Linked DNA regions of Homo sapiens: region 2 is linked to region 1. The links are contacts of gene promoters, found by promoter capture Hi-C in human tissues and cell types (Jung and others, 2019). All regions are on one chromosome and are shown on one strand. Each heading gives the region's core, a stretch centred on a gene start or on the middle of the fragment in contact. The rest is flanking DNA. Distances are from core to core; before and after follow the strand shown.

Evidence for each region. Contacts are between HindIII fragments. The study calls those that stand out against the background at their distance.
Region 2: a contact is called between a fragment that was not itself captured here and the fragment with the promoter of SAMHD1 in region 1, in 1 of the 25 tissues and cell types used here (heart right ventricle).

The regions. Positions count from the first base shown.
Region 1 is chr20:36,950,227-36,953,576 of GRCh38, forward strand. SAMHD1 (SAM and HD domain containing deoxynucleoside triphosphate triphosphohydrolase 1) reads right to left here and starts at 1,482. Exons shown (of 16, transcript NM_015474.4): 1 at 1,210-1,482. The coding sequence starts at 1,417. RefSeq lists a silencer at 977-1,196. The HindIII fragment of the contact is 37,170 bases long and covers 1-3,350 here.
Region 2 is chr20:38,175,198-38,178,547 of GRCh38, forward strand. No RefSeq gene overlaps it. Among named protein-coding and RNA genes, the nearest start is that of TGM2, 12 kb to the left of the region's middle. The HindIII fragment of the contact is 5,193 bases long and covers 1-3,350 here.

The sequences.
Region 1 (3,350 bases), core at 232-2,731:
ACAGAAAATATGGAACTACTTCACTCCACTTGTTGCTAGTCAAAGAAAATAAAGTAATAATCCATCCCAGCAGTGGAGGGAAACGAAAGGGCAAAAGGGGGAAGAAAAAAAAAAAAGGAGAAATGCAATTTCCCATACCCATTCAAGCTATCTTTGGGTCCTGAACCACTAATGTTCCTCCTACCCCAGTTTCCAACCTAGCCAAACAGGGCCCCACCTAACAAATGCAAAAATTTACTAAATTTGCAAATCCCAACCACCAAAGAATCACCTTCCTATTGGACACCTAGAGGATATAAGGCAGGAGTCAAATCTCACACCCACCACAAAAAGTTGAGTAGAATTCACAAGGATGGATGCTTGGATACGAATCAGTAAAATATGATTAAAACTCAACCTAAACACTTCTCCAGGGGATGTGGCCAAACTGTGGCATGCTGGGGATTCAGTGGTCAACTGAACAACCCCAAGGTTCAGATTTTGGAGGGGAACCTGCTTTTAAAGAGCAAAACATGTTCCTTACCATGTTCTGCAAGTGCAGTCAACACACGCCTATCGGGCGCTGCTGGGATGCCAAGGAAGGTGATGGGAATTCAGAGATTAACCAAGCCAGTTCCTTCCCCTTCAGGAAAAGCCTCAATTCAGGGAGGAAACCGAAACCTAAAAGCCCCAGAACATCCTCTGATGTGGCAAGTGTTCAAGGAGCTGCGGTTAGCGCGGAGGGGTCCCGCGAGCCTGGATGACAGCAAGCCGCCCACCAAGGTCTGGGGAAAAATCTCCTTCTAACTAAAAAAAAGGGACCCGAGTCTCGCTTGTCCCGCGCCGGGGTGGCAAGTTAGTGAAGAAACCCACGAGAGTGAGATCCCAATCTACGACTGCCCCTCCCAGGTCCTCAATCCCGGGAGCCTGCTCCCATCCTACGAATCGCCTATCCCAGGCGACCCCATGTCTTCTTCCTCCGCCTCGGGGAGTCAGTCCCGGGAGCCCCATGCCGCAGGCCCTCCTGGGAACCCCCGCCGCAGGGCTCCCTCCCCCGCCTCGGGTCTTCCTTTCCTCGGCGCCCCCAGCGCAGGTCCGCCCTCCCGGGTGCCTCCCGCCGCAGGGCTCGCTCCTCGGCCTCGGTCCTCTCGTGGGGCCCCCTCCCTCAGGGCGCCTGGCCCGCGCCCCAGGTCGCCGCCCTTCGCCCCTCAGCCCCTCCGGAGCCGCTACCTCGGATGTTCTTCAGCAGCACCGGCTCTTCAAAGCCACCGCGCCTGAGGAAGGAGCACACCTGCTCCGGACCCCATGTCTTGTAGTCGGGATGGAGTTCCAGGCCCGGGGACCAGTCTGCCTCTGCGGAAGGGGTGTTTGAGGGGGTTCTCGGGCTGTCATCGCAACGGGGACGCTTGGAGGGCTGCTCGGAATCGGCTCGCTGCATGGCTACACCTGGCGTCCGGCACAGCAGTCAAGAACCTCGGCGCCGGACCCGCGCGCAGGCGCACTGACAGCAGGGCCCTGGCGGGGAGTCCAAGGAGTATTGGCAGCCTATTGGCCTCCTGCGCAGGCTCACTGACAGTTGAGCCCTTCGGGCAGGGCAGCCTAGCGGCTCTTGCCTTGGGCTCCCTGCGCAGGCGCAATGGCAGTCCAGTCGTCCTCAAATCAATCCCGCCAGGGCGCTGGACGTGAACGCGAAAGGGCGTGGCTAGAAGCAGAACTGAGGGCAGTGCTGGTGGAAAGGGGGAGGAAAGAGCGCGCCCGGCACCGCACCCCCAATTAGGGGCTCGTCTAGTGAATTGGGGGTATTCTCCTTCGAATGAGTACACTACCCGCCGCACCTTGGCCGGGTTTCAGATGCCCCAAACTTAAAAGAAGCCTAAAAGGCCGTCAGGCTGCCAGCACCTTCCCAGTGAAGAGGAAAACAGTCAAGGTGCTGAACTGGAAGAACCCGGAATGATTTCAAATGTGACTTGAGGGTGTCTTCATTCCACAGTATTGCTGGTCAACTAGAGGGCCCTGGGATACCTGTTGTCTGGTGTCCACACAGGAGGGGACTTCAGACTTCTTTCCAACTAGAGACAGAGCCCTCCATCCCAACTGCATTCCCAGAGGAAGGAAAGTGGCCAGTCTGATTACTTAAAATTTAACTTCTGAGGACTTTTACTGCCTGGTTGTAACAGCATGTGAAAATGGCAGGCATTTTCCCATCACTTAACCCCTCTGCGGCAGGGCTCAAACTTCCCTATAAATACTGGTCCATGCAATTGCCTGGTAAAAGGACATATCACTATTACTGTTAATAAAGCCAACACACCTTCCCAGCAACCAAGGCATAGACCTGTTTAGGGGGTCAAGGACGAATGAGGCGGAATAGCTTATCATCAAGCAGTATGAACTAGTGGTCTACTGGTGAGCCAAAATATTATTTGCAAACAGAGCTTTACTGTGTGCCAGGCACGGTTCTAAGGGCTTTACAAATATAAAATAATTTTATATTTATACATAATACTAAATGAATTAAGTACATTCATTAAATTATTTAAATATTAAATAATTTTTATAACTTCTAAGGGTTTTACAAATATTGTAAAGTTCTAAGGGCTCTACACATATTACTTCACTTAATTATCACAATTACCTTAGGATGTAGGAAAAAGTAATTTGCCGCAGGTCTTCTTTTTTTTTTTTGAGACGGAGTCTTGCTCTGTTTCCCAAGCTGGAGTGCAGTGGCGTGATCTCAGCTCACTGCAACCTCTGCCTCCCAGGTTCAAGTGATTCTCATGCCTCAGACTCCCAAGTAGCTGGGACTACAGGCGCCTGCCACCACACCTGGCTAATTTTTGTATTTTTAGTAGAGACAGGATTTCACCATGTTGGCCAGGCTGGTCTTGAACTCCTGACCTCAGGTGATTCCCACACCTCAGCCTCCCAAAGTGCTGGGATTACACAGCCGTACCCAGCTGCCCAAGGTCTTACAGCTAGGAAATGATGAAGCCTGTATTCAAACCCAAGAGATGTAACTTGGTTCCAAAGTCCATGGTCTTGATAACTTGCCAACCACTGCTTGTTAAAGGGGGTTTGGGGCTGGGTGCAGTGGCTCATGCCTGTAATCCCAGCACTTTGGGAGGCCAGAGCACTCACTTGAGGCCAGGAGTTCAAGGCCAACCTGGCCAACATGGTGAAACCCCATCTCTACTAAAATACAAAAATTAGCCAGGCCTGGTGGTGCATGCCTGTAATCCCAGCTACTCAGGAGGCGGGGGCACGAGAATCACTCAAATGTGGGAGGTGTAGGTTGCAGTGAGCCAAGATCTTCCCGTTGCACTCCAGCCTGGGCAACAGAGCAAGACTCTGTTTCAAAAATAATAATAATA
Region 2 (3,350 bases), core at 461-2,960, 1.2 Mb after region 1:
TGACGGGTGATCGAATAAATGCCTCACTCAAAGGAGTTTATTCTCTGGGCCTCAGTTTCCCATTTGTGAAATGACATGTTTGGACCAAGTAAAGAATTTCTGATGCCCCTAGCGTCCGTGATGCTCACATGCGGTGGCTGTGAAAGTGGAGTCATCAGGGCCTTCTTTTCGGATGAAGAATTCCAGCAAAAAGGAGCTGGTGGGGGAGGGGGAGGGGGAGCCCAGCACTTACTCCCCAATCAGTTCCCACAGGCGGCCTCCTGAGCTTGTGCCCAGGGCTGGTTGACCCCTAGAAGAGCAATTTGCACTTCCTGCCTTTCTGGCCTAAAAAACGAAAAGAAAAGAAAAAGCCCCTGTCACCTTGGATTAACATCACCCCCTCTGCTGAGAATCTTCTAAGGGGTGCAGCCCCCTCTCTTCACCAATATTTTCAGAATGTCCAGTTTTCTAAACAAGACTTGACAGGGTGGTTTCTTTTTTAAGCTTTTTAAAATAAAATAAATCACCCTGTGCATGCACGATCCTGGAACCTCCAATTAGATTAACCCTATGGTTTCCTAAGCGGCAGCCAGCTGTGGGCACAGAGAGGTAGGAGGAAGGAAGCGACGGGGGCCTCACCTATGAGCCGGACTCACCTGCTTCCCAGGTCACCTCCCTTCCCACGGCTCACAGGACAGTACCCAGGCCCATCAGGAAGCTCAGAGGCAGAATGACTGAGGGTTTCAAGGCCCGACAGCTCCTAGCTGTACAACCTACTGCAAATTTCTTCATGTCTCTGACCTCAGTTTCCACACCCTGATAATGGGGGTAACGAGAGGACCAAGCTCACAGAGTAGTTAAGAATAAATGAGTTATTGCAGGGTTTAGTGTTTGGCGCAGGGAAAAGCTGCAGATGTTGACTGTTTTTAGTACTCTTATAATTACTTCTATGGGCTTTGAGGACCTCGATTCCAACTGCCCCCCTGCAAGTCAGCTCTGAGGGTAGGTGAGAGAGCATGGTCATTGTTCACCTCCTGTGTGCCAGGCTCTGTGTGAAGAAGCTTTATGCATGTGATTGCCCTCCACCTCCTTTTTTTTTCTTTTCTTTTCTTTTTTTTTTTTTTTTGAGATGGAGACTTTTGCTCTATCGCCCAGGCTGGAGTGCAGTGGCTTGATCTCAGCTCACTGCAACCTCCACCTCCTGGATTCAAGCAATTCTCCTGCCTCAGCCTCCTGAGTAGCTGAGATTACAGGCATGAGCCACCATGCCCGGCTAATTTTTGTATTTTTCATAGAGATGGGGTTTCACCATGTTGGCCAGGCTGGGTTCGAACTCCTGACCTCAGGTGATCTGCCCGCCTTGGCCTCCCAAAGTGCTAGGATTACAGACGTGAGCCACAGCGCCTGGCTGTGATTGCCTTTTGATTGTTTGTTTGTTCTCAGCCGCATCTGGCCACACAAGGACCGTAAGTTAATCCTTCTCTCAGGTAGTTCTATGTCTAGATGATGAATGGCTCCATCACCCAACTTCCAGATGTAAAGAGTAGGGGTCAGAGGCCGGGTGCGGTGGCTCACACCTGTAATCCCAGCACTTTGGGAGGCCGAGGCGGGCAGATCACGAGCTCAGGAGATCAAGACCATCCTGGCTAACACGGTGAAATTCCACCTCTACCAAAAATACAAAAAATTAGCCGAGTATGGTGGCGGATGCCTGTGGTCTCAGCTACTCGGGAGGCTGAGGCAGGAGAATGGCATGAACCCGGGAGGTGGAGCTTGCAGTGAGCCGAGACTGCACTACTGCACTCCAGTCTGGGCAACAGAACGAGACTCCATCTCAAAAAAAAAAAAAAAAGAGTAGGGGTCAGGGAGAGCAAGGAGCATGCCTCTGGTCACTGGGGGAACTTCTTGAGCTGGGGTGGGCCCTGTGATCTGTCTGGGTGGATTCATACTGGATCTGATCCCTTCCCTGTGGGTCCTGGTCCCATGCTCTGGCACAGACTACAGATGGGGAAAGTGAGGCACTTGCCCAGGACCAGATCTGCCCAGGTGCCAAGCCCGCACTTTTTGCAAAATACCAGCATTAGCTAGGGAGGGAGTAAGGATGAGAAGGGCAGCAGGAGGAGGTGGGTGGTATTGTTGTCCAGGTGGGAGAGGACGGAGGCTGGGCTGGGAGGTGGGAGGACCCTGCTCACACCCCCTTTGTGCACACTGTTTCTTGTGCTTTTTTATCCTTCACAGCTTAACCCCAGGATCACGTCTCGACGACAGCCGCCTCATCAACGGCCGCTTGGCCATCATTTGCCAAGGGCTTACTGAGTGCAGGGGCCCTGAAATGTACATGCATCGTCTTCAGTCTACTCACCAGCCCTGACTTTAAATGCCATCTATGTGCTGAAGGCTCCCACATTTGCATCTTCAGTCCTGTCCTCACTCTTAAATCCCAGGTCCAGGTTTCCAATCGCCTCCTCAAAATTCCTGCTGTGCCCCACCCGCTATTCACTCCCCCGCAGTATCCCCATCTCGGTGGAAGCAACACCACCATTCCCTATGCTCAGTCCCCAGGGTCAGCCTTGACTCCTCTCTCTCAGATCCCACCTCAATTTGTCAGGAAATCCTGGTTGCCCTGCCTTTAAAATGTCTCTAGAATCTGGCCACTTCTCACAACCTCTGCCTCTGCCACCATCATTCTGGTGCAAACCACCAGTTTCTTTCACCTGGACTAGGGCTCCCTGTTTTCCCCCTTGCTCCCCACTTCCAATCTGTATTCCACACAACAGCCAAAGGAATCTCTTTAAAACTTAAGTCAGTTCCTGCCACTCCTCTGCTCAAGAGCCTGCAGTAACCCCCTGCTTCACTCTGATTAAAGCCAAAGTTCTCATCAGGTCCCCAAGACCTCCACCATCTGATCCCGTTGTTCTCGGACTTTCTCTCTGACCACTCCCTGCTCACTTGGCCCCGGCACGCTGGCCTCCCTGCCATTCCTTCAGCTTGCCAGGCGTGTCCTCTGTTTAGAACTTTTGCACTGGTCGTTCCCTCGGCCTGGAGTGCTGTTCTTTGACTTGGTGGCCTGGGTATAGTGTGGCGCCTGAGAAGTCTGTGCTGCATCCACATGGCAGGCTCTGGAGAGTGTGGAGGGAACTTGGTGATGAAGGGACAGAGATTTGGCCCACACACATTAGATGCTGTGTGACCCTGGAGATTGCTTAACTGTGTCTCAATTTCCTCTTTAGCCAAATGGGCTCTAAGTGAGCTGATGATGTTACTGGGGTCCCTGACTCATTGTAGCTTGTGGGGAGAAAGTGGTCATGCCCTCAGAAACTGTCTGGTCAACCCTGCCATTGTAGAGCTGGGAACATTGAGGCCAGAGAGGA